Regions from separate parts of the Homo sapiens genome. Here region 1 is linked to region 2. Evidence: promoter capture Hi-C in human tissues and cell types (Jung and others, 2019). All regions are on one chromosome and are shown on one strand. Each heading gives the region's core, a stretch centred on a gene start or on the middle of the fragment in contact. The rest is flanking DNA. Distances are from core to core; before and after follow the strand shown.

Region 1 (6,301 bases), core at 2,453-4,952, 1.1 Mb before region 2:
ACCAAGGCTGGAGTGCAGTGGCGTTCCTGCTTCAGCCTGCTGGGTAGCTGGGACCACAGGCATGCACCACCACGTCTGGCTGATTTTTTAATACTTTTGCTAGAGACAGGGTTTTGCCATGTTGCCTAGGCTGGTCTCGAACGCATGAGACCAGGTAGAAACACGGCAAATCGTCTCTACCAAAAATACAAAAAATCAGCCAGGCATGGTGGCGAGCACTTGTAGTCCCAGCTACTGGGGAGGCTGAGGTGGAAGGATGGCTTGAACCCGGGAGGTGGAGGTTGCAGTGAGGCTGAGATTGCGCTACTGCACACCAGCCTGGGTGACAGAGCCAGACTCTGTCTCAAAAAAATAAAAAAATAAATAAATAAAAATAAAAAATTAACTGTTGGCAAAAATGTGGAGAAATTAGAACCCTCATCCACTGCTGCTAGGACGGTAACATGGCACAGCCACTTTGGAAAGCAGTTCCTCAAAAAGTTAAACATACGGCAATTCTACTCCTAAATATCCAAGAACAGATGTTCACACAAAAACTTGTACATGAGAGTTCATAACAGCATTATTCATAGTAGCCAAAAAGCAGAAACAACCCAAATGTCCATCAACTGATAAATGGATAAACAAAATGTGGTATATCCATATTACAGATTATTCAGCTCTAAAAAGAAATGAAGTACAAATACATGCTACAACATGGATGAGACAGAACAGTATTATGCGAAGAGAAAGAAACTAGATCCAGAAGGCCAAGTATCGCATGATTCCATTTATATGAAATATCTGGAAAAGGCAAATCCATAGAGACAGAAAGTAGATTAGTGGTTGCTGAGAATACGCGGAAGGAGGGAATGGGAAGTGACTAATGGTTATGAAGTTTCTTTACCGGGTGACTAAAATGTTTTGGAAGGAGACAGTGGTGGTGGTTGCACAGCCTTGTAAATACACCAAAAAAACCACTAAATTGCACGTTTAAAATGTATACATAAATTATATCTCATTATAAACCACACACACTTAGAAGAGGTTCCATTTGCCCTCTTAAGAAAAAAATCAATAAGCTTATTTAGGCCACCTCCTACCTTCTGCTAAATTAGCCTTATATTCATTACATTCTTCGATTAAAACATTTTAAAACTCTAAATTTGAGACTTTAAAAGGTTAAAACTAGTCTCTCCATGGGCTGGATTTTGTGGCACAGAATGGTTCTGGGCTTCCTCCTATTTTTGATGCTCCCGTTGAGTCTATTTGGAAGCTCCTCTTCTGCTATATCTTGATATCCCTAGCCCTCTTCTCAGTCCACACTCTTACTAGATGATTTCATTCCACTTCTACAGCCACAAATAACATCTTAATGTTGATGATTCTTAAATATTTCCAGACAGATCTCTCTCAGGTCCACACACAACTTTTCATTAGACATCTCTACTGGGTGTCTTACAGACACTGAAATCAACATGTCTAAAACTTGACTCATCGTCACTCCTCCCAAAATAATAAAAATCAAAATCATATCCTCCTCTGCCTTTCACTACTACCCTACCTACTTAGTTTCTGTTTGCTTTTTTTTTTTTTTTTTTCCTGAGACAGGGTTTCACTATGCTGCCCAGGCTGATCTTGAACTCCTGGTCTCAAATGATCTTTCTGCCTCAGCCTCCCAAAGTGCTGGGATTACAGGTGTGAGCCAACACATGGCCTTCTCTACTTACCTAGTTTCTATCTACCTAGTTTCAGAAGCCAGAAACCAGGGTTTTCTCCTTAATGCTTCCCTCCTCCAACTTTATCCAATCGATAAGCTCAACTGGGTTCTCTGCAAATGTCCTCCACTCTTCTGCATCCTAATTACCTCTACTCTAGATTGGTGAGAATCATCACCTTTCCCATAAATTATGATATCTTCCACACCTCCTTGCCTCTTAACAAATTTATTCTCACATTGCAGCAAAGCCCTACCCCAACCCTCACTCCCTAAAACTCTTGACCGGTCTTAAAAGAGCCTTTGTGTTCTGGCTCCTACTTCTCCTCTCACCACATGACCCCTCTCTTCACCCTCATTTTATGCTTCAGCAATTCTGAAACACTCATGATTCTTTTGGTTCTAGGCACTTACAGGTGCCAGCTCCTGTCTTCCTGACTCTCAACTGCCCACATCTTTCTTGTCCTTAAGGTCTGTGCTAACATGTATGTTACTTCCCTTGGTTAAATCTTCCCCGACCCTTCCATGGCCTGGCTAGTTGCTCCCCTTCAGGCTACTTTAGTACCAATGCACTTCACCCCATCGTCACACTTATTATTATCCTATATTGTAACAGTCTCCTATGCTTCCTACCAGACTGTAAGCTCCTTAAAGGTATGTACACATACTGTCTCTTGGTAGATCGTTCTATCCCTAGCATCTAGCAGAGGCTGCCACATAGTAAGCACTAAAAAGCCCAGCATGATGGCTCACACCTGTAATCCTAGCACTCTGGGAGGCTGAAGCAGGAAGATTGCTTGAGTCGAGTTCAAGACCAGCCAAGGCAACACAGTGAGACCCCCATCTCTACAAAAAATTTAAAAATTAGCCAGGTGTGGTGGTACACACTTGGGGTCCCAGTTGCTCGGGAGGCTAAAGTGGGAGGATCACTTGAGCCCAGGAGGTCGAGGCTACAGTGAGCCGTGATCGCACCACTGCACCCTAGCCTGGGCGACAGAGAAACCCTATCAATAAATTAAAATAAGCACTCAACATGTTTCCTGCATGAATGAAACACAGTGACACCAGTAAATCAACTGTTTTTATATTGTTTTTTGTTGTTGTTGCCCAATAAGAAAAACTTTTACACGCCCAAGAATAATAATTTATATGCACTCTGAGCAAAGAAAAAAATTGGTTTATATCCACCTACATTTTTCCATGGGGTTATAAAAGTGACTGAATAATTTTCACAAGGCATGTCACAAACAGCTTTACTAGAATTTACCCCTATAACTCTCTATTTGTGAAACCTTGGGAAATACCTTAACTATTACTGGGCTAAACTTACCTTTTTTAAAAAAATATTGTATTATCACTATGATTGTTTTTTAGAGACAGGGTCTCACTTTGTTGCCCAGGCCGGAGTGCAGTACTATTCACAGGTGTGATCGCAGCATACTATAGCCTGAAACTCCCGGGCTCAAGCAACCCTCTTCCTCAGCCTCCAGAATAGCTGGGACTATTCACAGGTGGGATCACAGAACACTATAGCCTGAAACTCCTGGGCTCAAGCAACCTCCTGCCTCTGCCTCCAGAATAGCTGGGACTACAGGCACACACTACCGCATGTGCTAAGCTTATCTGCAAAATACAAAAATGACTACTTCACATTTCATTTCTTCAGGAGGATGCTCTAAGAACCAACTAAATGTATGTATATCATTTGGCTTACTTGAAGAAAAGGCACCACATTAATATAAAGGACAATACCAAGGCAAAGAAAAGTTCCAAGGTCTAGTTGCTTTCTATACTCCCTTAATGCCAAACTTTACGACTTAACTTGTTAGGGATGGTGGCCCTTTTTACAAATATTTCCAAAAAAGAAAGGCTAAACACACTCACAAATTGTAAACAAGGTTGCCATGTTCTCCTTGTTTGAATTGGAGTCTTCCATTTGCAGTGAAGGTGATACAAAAGAAAGACTGTCTGAAGATACATCTACATGACCTGTCCCCATAGCAACCTCCTGGGTGATGGAGGAGACAGCCACAGGTTCTAGGCTGAGGCCAACTTCATGGAGGGAAACAGATTCTAGGGAGGCAAGGTTGTGTGAGGTAGAGAGTGCCACGCTTACAGAGTTGGTGCTCATGGCCACAGTGTGAATGGAGTCACTGAGGGCACTGTCAGACATGCCATTGACCCGACTTGCAATGTGGTCTGTCTCCATGACCACAGGGAGCTCCAGGCCATTCCCATGCATGGGTATCACACCACCATGTCCTACAGCGTCTGCTGCAAGGTTGTTGCTCACAGAATCCACAGACAGAGGTTCATGACTTCTGGAGCCATTTGGGATTTGGGAATGCTCGCCTGCAACACCGTCCATCGTAAGCTCCTCTGCCATTCCATCTGTCGAAATTGGGCTGGTAACCCTAGAAACGTTCTCCATAGTGATTGCTGTGTCCAAGGCCACCTCATGGCCATCACTGGGATGAAGACTTTGGGCACCATGTGTGTTCACAGAGCGAGAGTCTATTGAAACAATGCCTGGTTCTAATCCAACATTTCCATTGGACTGATAGGGATCTAGTGCTGAAGGGTTATTGGTGATAGATAATGCTGTATTACCATCAACATTTATAGAGTTAGGGTGGATGTACTGTGGAGGTGGTCTGTCAGCTAAATAAGATAAAATGCCTGAGAAAAGGAAAAGATGAGATATCAGAGACTTTTAGTACATTATTAAAGAATTCCAAGCACTAGACGCTATTTCCTTACAAACATAACTAAGTTCAAATAATCTCCTGCTTCTTTAATTTAATCGATACACACTATTTTATAAATAGCAACATACATATACCGTAATTGAGTTTTTCCTGTAAAACTCGAAAATCCTAAAAAAGTTAACTATGTTCCTTTGAAGCTAACTGGGAATCACTAACGAAAACACTGCTTTTAATATACATATGGTTGCAATTCCTGAGTCCTAAGGTGTAAAATTTGCTCTCCTAATTATTAAAAGGTAAAATGATTTAAAAACAGATCTTCCATGTGAAAAATAAAACTTAATTAAATATAATTTAATATAATTAAACTATCATAACACAAACTATTTAATACAAGTCACAATTGTACCTGTTTTATTAAAACAAAAAAAAATTAACACTTGTGCTTGGGAGGATATGGTGAAATGATACTTACTAAACTGCCAGAGGGAATGTAAACTGCTAAAACTTCTTTGTGAAGCATATATATTAGGAGCCTCAAAAATGTTAATACCCTCTTGCACAAGAAATTCCACTTAAGGTACTCTTCTCTAAATCCATTTTGTAAATATTATACATAAAGACGTTCATAAGAGCATTAGTTACAATGGTAATAAAAACTGGAAAAACCAAACTGTCCAACAATAAAGATAATAAACCATCAAATACCCATTCAGTAGAAAGTAATGCATCATTAAAAAGGATAATTATGAAAACCACGTAGCAGCAAAGGAAAATACCCATGTAACAGCAGAGAAAAAGATAAAGTGAAAAAAGTAAAGACAGACAATCGTATAGAAAGTATGGTCTTGGGCAGGGCACAGTGGCTCATGCCTGTAATCCCGGCACTTTGGGATGCTGACGTGGGCGGATGGCTTCAGCGCAGGAGTTCGAGACCAGCCTCGGCAACATGCCAAAACCCCATCTCTTTTTTTAAAAAAGTTATTTATAAAAAAGAAATGAAATATGGTATGGTCTCAAGGCAGGCATGTGCCTGTATTCCAAGCTACTCAAGAGTCTGAGGTGAGAGAATCACTGGAGTCCAGGAGTTCCAGTCCAGCCTGGGCAAAATAGTTGAGACTCCGTCTCCATTAAAAGAAAAAAAAAAAAAAGAAAAGAAAAAAGAGAGCAAGAGAAGAAACCGTGGTCTTAATTATGAAAATTGGTAAAAACCTATACACCAAAACAAATGGCAGGAAGGAAGTACACCAAAAAGATGGATGATGGGACTGAGTGGTTCCTTCCCTTATTTGCTAAATTTTCCGCAATAAGCATATAATACTCCTATAACAGAATAAAAATTCAATGAACTTAAAAAACATGACACTATAACAAGACACTATAGTGCTTGACTGAAATTATAGCTGTAGAATTATAAACACCAAATGAAAGAGATACTGGAGGAGAAAGAAGAAAAATTATGTGCAATTAAGAAATTCAGCTTAGTCAAACTGTATTACTAATGTGTTATGTGCCACATTCTAAGAGGAAAAGTACATAAATATAAACAAAGATACTTTTCCTGCCTAGAGATTAATATCTAATAGTGACAAACAGAAAAAAGTGTTATTCATATCTTCAGGATAAAAGTTTAAAAGCTGGCGCCGTTCTTTTTCTCTAACATCTCAAGTAACTGTAACACTTACCAGGTAGAATGGTTCTGAAATAACTGCTCTCCAGGTGAGGGTAAGGTGGTGGAGGTAGGGTGTAGTTTCTTTCAGGTAACCCACACATCACCCCTCGATCCCCAATACCCATTGGTAGCATTAAAGACAGAGCAGAAGGCAGAGAGCTCAGGGAGGGACCCAGGTTTGGAATTGCCACTGGGAGGCCTACAAAACAAAATTTTTTTTCTCAG
Region 2 (6,514 bases), core at 1,928-4,427:
ATCTATTCTTGTGCTCTGCCTGTTCACACAAAGGAACTGAGATAAGATTCACAGGAAAATGACATAAGTGACATAATCAAAGACTGGGAAAAAAAGAAAATTAAAAGAGAAAAGAGAGCCTTAGGACTGAGGGCTGTGATCCCCCGTTTCCCACGCCGGCAGCAGGCCTGGCTGTGTCAGGAAAGCACTGCCCTAAGTGTCTGACTCATTATGAAGTTGCAATTTGAAGAGTGATGACGTGACTTGGGGGTACGGACTTCACAATCATTTAACTCTCGGTCACTCTCTGAGGTTCTCAGATGAAAGGCCATCTCAGGTCAGTTATTCCAGGGAAACTACATCTGCCAAGGAACACATGAAAGAGGTAATTCAGTCCTTTTAGATGAGCCAGGGCCCACACACAGGAAGCAACTCAAGCGAGGGCGGACCAGGGCAGAACCGGCCTGGCCTAGGTCTCCTGACCCCATACACACTTGCTGTCTCCATCCCACCTTGCTTCTCACCTCAACACATCTGAACGAGGGCCTTGCCTTCGGGAAACATCCCAGCGCATTCAAAGCCAAGCAATGAATGCTGCAGCTTTGCTATGATCAAATAAAAGCTGCCTGAGTTTTACTTTATGTTTATCAGGGTCATTGGCACTTGGTAAAAATAATGCTTTATATAATAATTGAAAATGTATCTAGTAGACACAACACAAATGTCCAACAAAATGTGGTACATCCATACAATGGAGTATTATACAGCCATGAAAAGGAATGAAGTACTGCCACATGCTACAATATGCATGAACTTTGAAAACGTGATGCTGAGTCAAAGAAGCCAGACACAAAAGGCCACACAGGGTGTGATTCCATTTATATAAAATGTCCAGAATAAGCAAATCCATAGATACAGAAAGTAGATTAGTGGTTGCCTAAGGTTAGGGAGAATGGGGCAGGGGGAGGCTGCAGGTGAGGGCTAACGGGTACAGGGTTCCTATTTTGGGGAGGATGAAAATGTTCTGGAATTAGATGGTGGTGGTTGCACAATCTCATGTATATACTAAAAACCACTGAATTGTACACTTTAAAATGGCAAATTTATGGTATGTAACTAAAAAATAATAAGACCTTAAAATGCGTAAGACAAGAACAGATTAGGTTGCAAGTAACTCTAGGAACATGGGGTTTTGAATCAGAAATCTGGGCTGACAGGTTCAGCCTGAAGCCAACCTCTCCCCTTACCTCACATAAACTTTTGTGATGAGAACCTGAGATTAAGTGCATAAATTGCCAGACAGCAGTGACCGGAACAGAAAACAGCCCCTCCTCGCTGTGGGAAGGAAAGGCGCTCCTGCAACCTAACTTCTCAGTAGCAGGCTATTGATCGCCAGTGTTCTTTTGCCTCTAATCAGCGTGTAGAGGGGGATTACTAGAACCTTCTGTGTATAGATAACTCATGAATGGCCTCTCCTCTCCAAGGAGGGGGCTGTGAAGGTTCAACTTCCCAGCCACTCTGAAAATGTCCCTGCCAATCCCAGCAAAACAAGGCTGAAGAACTACCCTACCAGGAGACAGGGCTGTCAAGCCAAATGCAAACATTATTCTCTTGTCTCTCTCAGACACACAAACCTCCCCCGTGTTATCAGTCAACTTCCCCCACTCCCTCCCACAAAGAAAGGGGCTGAAGAGCCCAGATGCTGGCTGCGGAACTTCCTGGGCCTGGGACCGCAGGGCCGCTCCTCCAGTCTTCTCTAAACACAGCTAAGGGTCTGCAGGCGGACACTCAGCCTTGTTATAGGTAAGAGTTTAGACCAGAGGCCTTGACGGGTTCTTCAAGAGATGGTGGGCAAGATTGCGCGACCAGAGGGTCATCCCTGCAGCTACAGAGGGCTGACCTGCTCAGAGGCCCAAGGCCCCAGCCTAGGACAAGCCAGGCCAACCCTGCAGGCTAAGAGGGCAACAGTGCCCTCAATCAACCCCAGAGGAAAAAGTGGCCAGGCAAACGGACCTGGGCCACACACAGACCCACAAAAACGCGCACAGTGCCAGGACACGCAACCCAGGAATGCACCTATGCAATCACCCAGAATGGGTCACAGCCACACAGAAAGATAGATGCACATAAACACACAGGCCTGAGTGATGTTACAGAAAGGAAAAGCCAGACTAAGGCTGCACGCACAGACGTGAAACACAGCCACACAGAGCCCACAGCACGCTCGGTCACCGTCACACAGTGACACGGGCACGCCTACAGACAGAACTCCAGAGGCGGCAGGCGGGGAAACAATCTCACACGTTTGTAGGGGCACTCCCAGATGCCTGTCTCACGCTGGCACAGTCCCCGGACGGCAGGTCAGCAACAGTCACATCTCACATCGCACAGCCAGGCATACAGGCAAAGGGCCTAGAACTACCCCGGCCACAGGTCTCAGAACCAGCGGCTCACGCAGTCACCCAATCAAGGGTCCCAGTTGCACATCCAGTCACCCCTGGACCCTGGTCACACTGCAGAGTCACTCACAAATGGGAGTCCCGACAGACGCACAGTCCTCCCCAGACAGAGGTCAACCCAAGATGGGGGTCACACCTGAAATCACAGTCCCCACACAATCACGAGGTCACATCTGCACACACAGTCTCTGCACAGTCACCCTTAGGGGTCACAACGCACACAGTCTCCGCCTAACAGGGGTCACCCCAAGATGGGGGTAACCCCCTGATGTGGGTCACAGCGCACACACAGTATCCTGCAGACACTCCCAGAGGGGTCGCACTGCATACACAGTCCCTGCAAAGTCGCCCCCCGATAGGGGTCACACCGCACACAAAGTCCCCGCACAGCTCCCCAAGACAGGGTCACATCGCACACAGTCCTCGCACGGTCACCCCGGTCCGGCTGCCCGGCTCTGTTCCTACGGCGGGGCCCCGAGGAGCCCGCGCAGCCGCCCCCCTGCCCCGCACGCGCGGCCCCAGCTCCGGCGGCCTCGGCGCGGCGTCCGGCGGCCCAGGCCGGGCGCGGCGAGCCCGGGGCTCACCTCGCTGTTGCTGGCCGAGGAGGAGGCGGCGCTGGGCGTGGGCGAGCGCTGCAGGGTCACCAGGGCCATGGCTGCGGCGCGGTGCGAGGGCGCCACAGACGTCTCGAGCTAGAGCCGCCACCGCCACCGCCGCCCGGGCCGGGCCCGGGGCCTCCTGGAGCCGCGCGCGGGCGGCCGGGCCGAGCCGGGCCGGGCCCGCCCCTCCCCCTCGGCGTCGCCACCGCCCCCGCCCCCAGCTCCCGCCTCCCGCGCCGGCGCGCGCAGGCCTCAGTGCGCGGAGTGGGCGGGGAAGCGGGCAGGGCGGGACGAGGAGGCGCGCGTGCGCGGGGGCCCTGAGGGCTGCCCGAGGCCTCGGCTGGTCGATCACGTCCCTCGCGCGCCCGACACACGCGCCCCCGCCCGCGCGCCCCGCTATCAGGCCTGGGACTCGGGGGCGCGCGCGCCGCCCGGAGCCCGTACGCCCCAGGGGCCCTGCCCGCTGCTCTGCCTGGGGAAACTGAGGCCCGGCGACCGTGCAGACAGGACTGTACAGCGACCAGGAAATAAAAGACGTCCTGGGGCCGGGCGCGGTGGCTCACGCCTGTAATCCCAGCACTTTGGGAGGCTGAGGCGGGCGGATTACGAGGTCAAGAGATCGAGACCATCCTGGCCAACATGGTGAAACCCCGTCTCTACTAAAAAGACAAAAATTAGCTGGGCGCAGTGGTGCGCGCCTGTAGTCCCAGCTACTCGGGAGGCTGAGGCAAGAGAATCGCTTGAATCTGGGAGGCGGAGGTTGCAATGAGCTGAGATCGCGCCACTGCACTCCAGCCTGGGCGACAGAGCGAGACTCGGTCTCAAAAAAACAAAAAACAAAAAACAAAAACAGTAAGCAAAATAGATTCGCCTGATTTTGCAGAGGTTAATCAAGTTATTAGGCACGTTTTTAAAAAAGTATTTTGCTAATCTTTTTCAATGAATTCTTTCTGGGTGTTCTGAAACCCAGCCAACTCCTTGGAGGTCAGGGAAGGCTTCCCAGAAGAGCTTTATTCTGAGGCTTGGGCTTGAGCATAAGCAGGATTAACAGGTGAAAGAACAGAGAGACAGCTCTCCAAGCAGGGGGGATCAGCGTGCCCTGAAGCAGGAAGAAGTTTGTCAACCGGAGGCCAGCACTCAGGGAAGGGAAGAGGGGAGGAATGGCTGGAGTCTCCATCCTCTCTGGAAAGATCGCTCCGGCTGCTGCGTGGATGAGGGACCACGGGGCAGAGGGCTGAGGGAGACCAGGGAGGAGGCTGCTGCTGTTGTCCCGGGGAGAGGTGACCAGTTATGGGGATGGAGAGGGGAACATGGAATAAGATACCAAGAAGGCAATTCTGGCTTGACTTAGTAGTAGGAAACTTTTCTTTTAGCCAAAATCTCATCTCCCGGCTCCCACCCCCAACCTCTGCATGTTGCACAAGCACTCGCAAACGCAGTGGTCCCAGCCTGCCCCGCAGCTTAGCAAATTTGTCTTACTGCCCAACAGGAAACCCACGCAGCCTCCTGGATTCTTCCCCGTCCCTCCCTCTGTCCTGGGGCTGTGACCTCCTCCATGTTATTCACAGGGTCTCAGCACGATTCATCTCAAAGGTGATTCTAGTGGGGGGCACTGTAGCTTCTACGGAGCGTTTCTAAGAGGGGATTTGTGGGAATGTTTGTGGTTGTCTTGCTGATGGAGGGGGAGAGCTCCTGGCATTTAGAGTGCAAGAGCCTTGGATGCTAAATGTCTTCCAATGCACTGGACAGTCTCCCCAACAAGAATTGCTCCATTCCCACAAAATGTTTCCTGGGTGAAAAACCCATTTATAGTAATTTGAAGCCAGAACCTAACTCCATTTCATGCATCAACACTAGTCTTCCTTCCTTCCTTCCTTCCTTCCTTCCTTCCTTCCTGCCTTCCTTCCTTCCTTCCTCTCTTTCTCTCACTTTTTTTCTGAAACAGGGTCTCACTCCCGTCACCCAGGCTGAAGTGCAATGTCACAATCATAGCTCACTGCAGCCTCCATCTCCCAGGCTCAAATCATCCTCCTGCTTCAGTCTCCTGAGTACAACGGGTACACACCACCACACCCAGCTCCTTTAAAAAAAAAGTTTAACTATGTTGCCCAGGCAATCCTCCTGCTTCCGCCTTCCAAAGTGCTGGGATTACAGACAGAAGCCACCATGGCTAGCCTGGTATTTTTTACTGAATTTTCAGAAAGGTGACTATGTTGAAACCCTGTCTCTCCTAAAAATACAAAAAATTAGCCAGGCATGGTGGCGGGCACCTATAATCTCAGCTACTCAGGAGGCTGAGGCAGGAGAATCACTTGAACCCGGGAGGCAGAGGTTGCAGCAATCTGAGATCGTGCCACTGCACTCCAGCCTGTGTGACACAGCAAGACAGAGAGAAAGAGAGAAGGGAAGGGAGGGGAGGGGAGGGGAGAGGAGGGGAGAGGAGGGGAGAGGAGGGGAGGGGAGAGGAGGGGAGGGGAGAGGAGGGGAGGGGAGGGGAGGGGAGAGGAGGGGAGAGGAGGGGAGGGGAGAGGAGGGGAGGGGAGAGGAGGGGAGGGGAGGGGAGGGGAGGGGAGAGGAGGGGAGGGGAGGGAAAGGAAGGGAAAATACACTTTGTTTTGCTTGAGAGTTTTGTCAAGAGTTGTTCATCCATCCTTAGGGAAAAGGAGGTAATGGATGGCAACGCCTCTGCTAATATTAGAGCATCCCACACAAGGTGCCCACAACTGTAGCTGCACTCTAGGTAGACAGACAGTCATAGGTACTTAAATGTCAAATATAAGGGAAAATTGTGGACAAAATTCAGTTGAGTAGAGAATATTTTATTTCTCAAATCCAAGCACATTGATTATTGGCAGGCCCATGCTTCTGAGATGCCCCTGTGTCCTCTAAGGGAGTAGTGGCTGAGCATTTCCACATTGTAATGCATGTTGTTTCATTATGATTTATTTTTCTTTTATGTCTCTCTTACATTAGTTTTCAAATTTGAGAGTTTGAGAATCCCCTGGAGAAAATACAGATTGCTAGACCCCACCTCCCAGAGTTTCGAATTCACAAGGTTTGCTGTAGGGCTGGAAAATTTGCACGTCTAACAAATTCACAGGCAATGCTGATGCTTCTGTCTGGGGACGACAGTCTGAGAACTACTGCCTATACAAATGCAATGGCCTCTTCACCAAGAAATTCCTACCTAGATCTGATCCTGGTACCCGTCCGTGGCCCCCAATCCTAATCCCCCTGCTCTGGCCGGCCTGCTTTTCCACTCACCCCAACTTTTTTGGAGGCAGTCTCCACCCCTTCTCACTTCCTCTTAGAGCTGAGAGCCCTTTTCTTCCCCACAACTAACTCTTGCTAGAAATCACCTCCAAAAAGCTTTCCCTGCCCCTTAAGCAGTGTCATTTCCAGGATCTCGTAGCCCTCACCCTACCCTTAAACACACAGCAAGTGTCAGTCTGCCTTATCATAATGGGTCCATCTCTC

What was found. Contacts are between HindIII fragments. The study calls those that stand out against the background at their distance.
Region 1: a contact is called between a fragment that was not itself captured here and the fragment with the promoter of SSH1 in region 2, in 1 of the 25 tissues and cell types used here (mesenchymal stem cells).

What each region holds. Positions count from the first base shown.
Region 1 is chr12:107,747,835-107,754,135 of GRCh38, forward strand. PRDM4 (PR/SET domain 4) reads right to left here. Exons shown (of 12, transcript NM_012406.4): 4 at 6,090-6,275; 5 at 3,581-4,375. The region is part of intron 3 of PRDM4-AS1 (PRDM4 antisense RNA 1); the gene reads left to right. Among named protein-coding and RNA genes, the nearest start is that of PRDM4, 10 kb to the right of the region's middle. The HindIII fragment of the contact is 3,030 bases long and covers 2,188-5,217 here.
Region 2 is chr12:108,854,406-108,860,919 of GRCh38, forward strand. It overlaps SSH1 (slingshot protein phosphatase 1), which reads right to left and starts at 3,178. Exons shown (of 15, transcript NM_018984.4): 1 at 3,023-3,178. The coding sequence starts at 3,091. RefSeq lists enhancers at 1-759, 1,874-2,375, 2,428-2,477 and a silencer at 2,908-3,647. The HindIII fragment of the contact is 11,424 bases long and covers 1-6,514 here.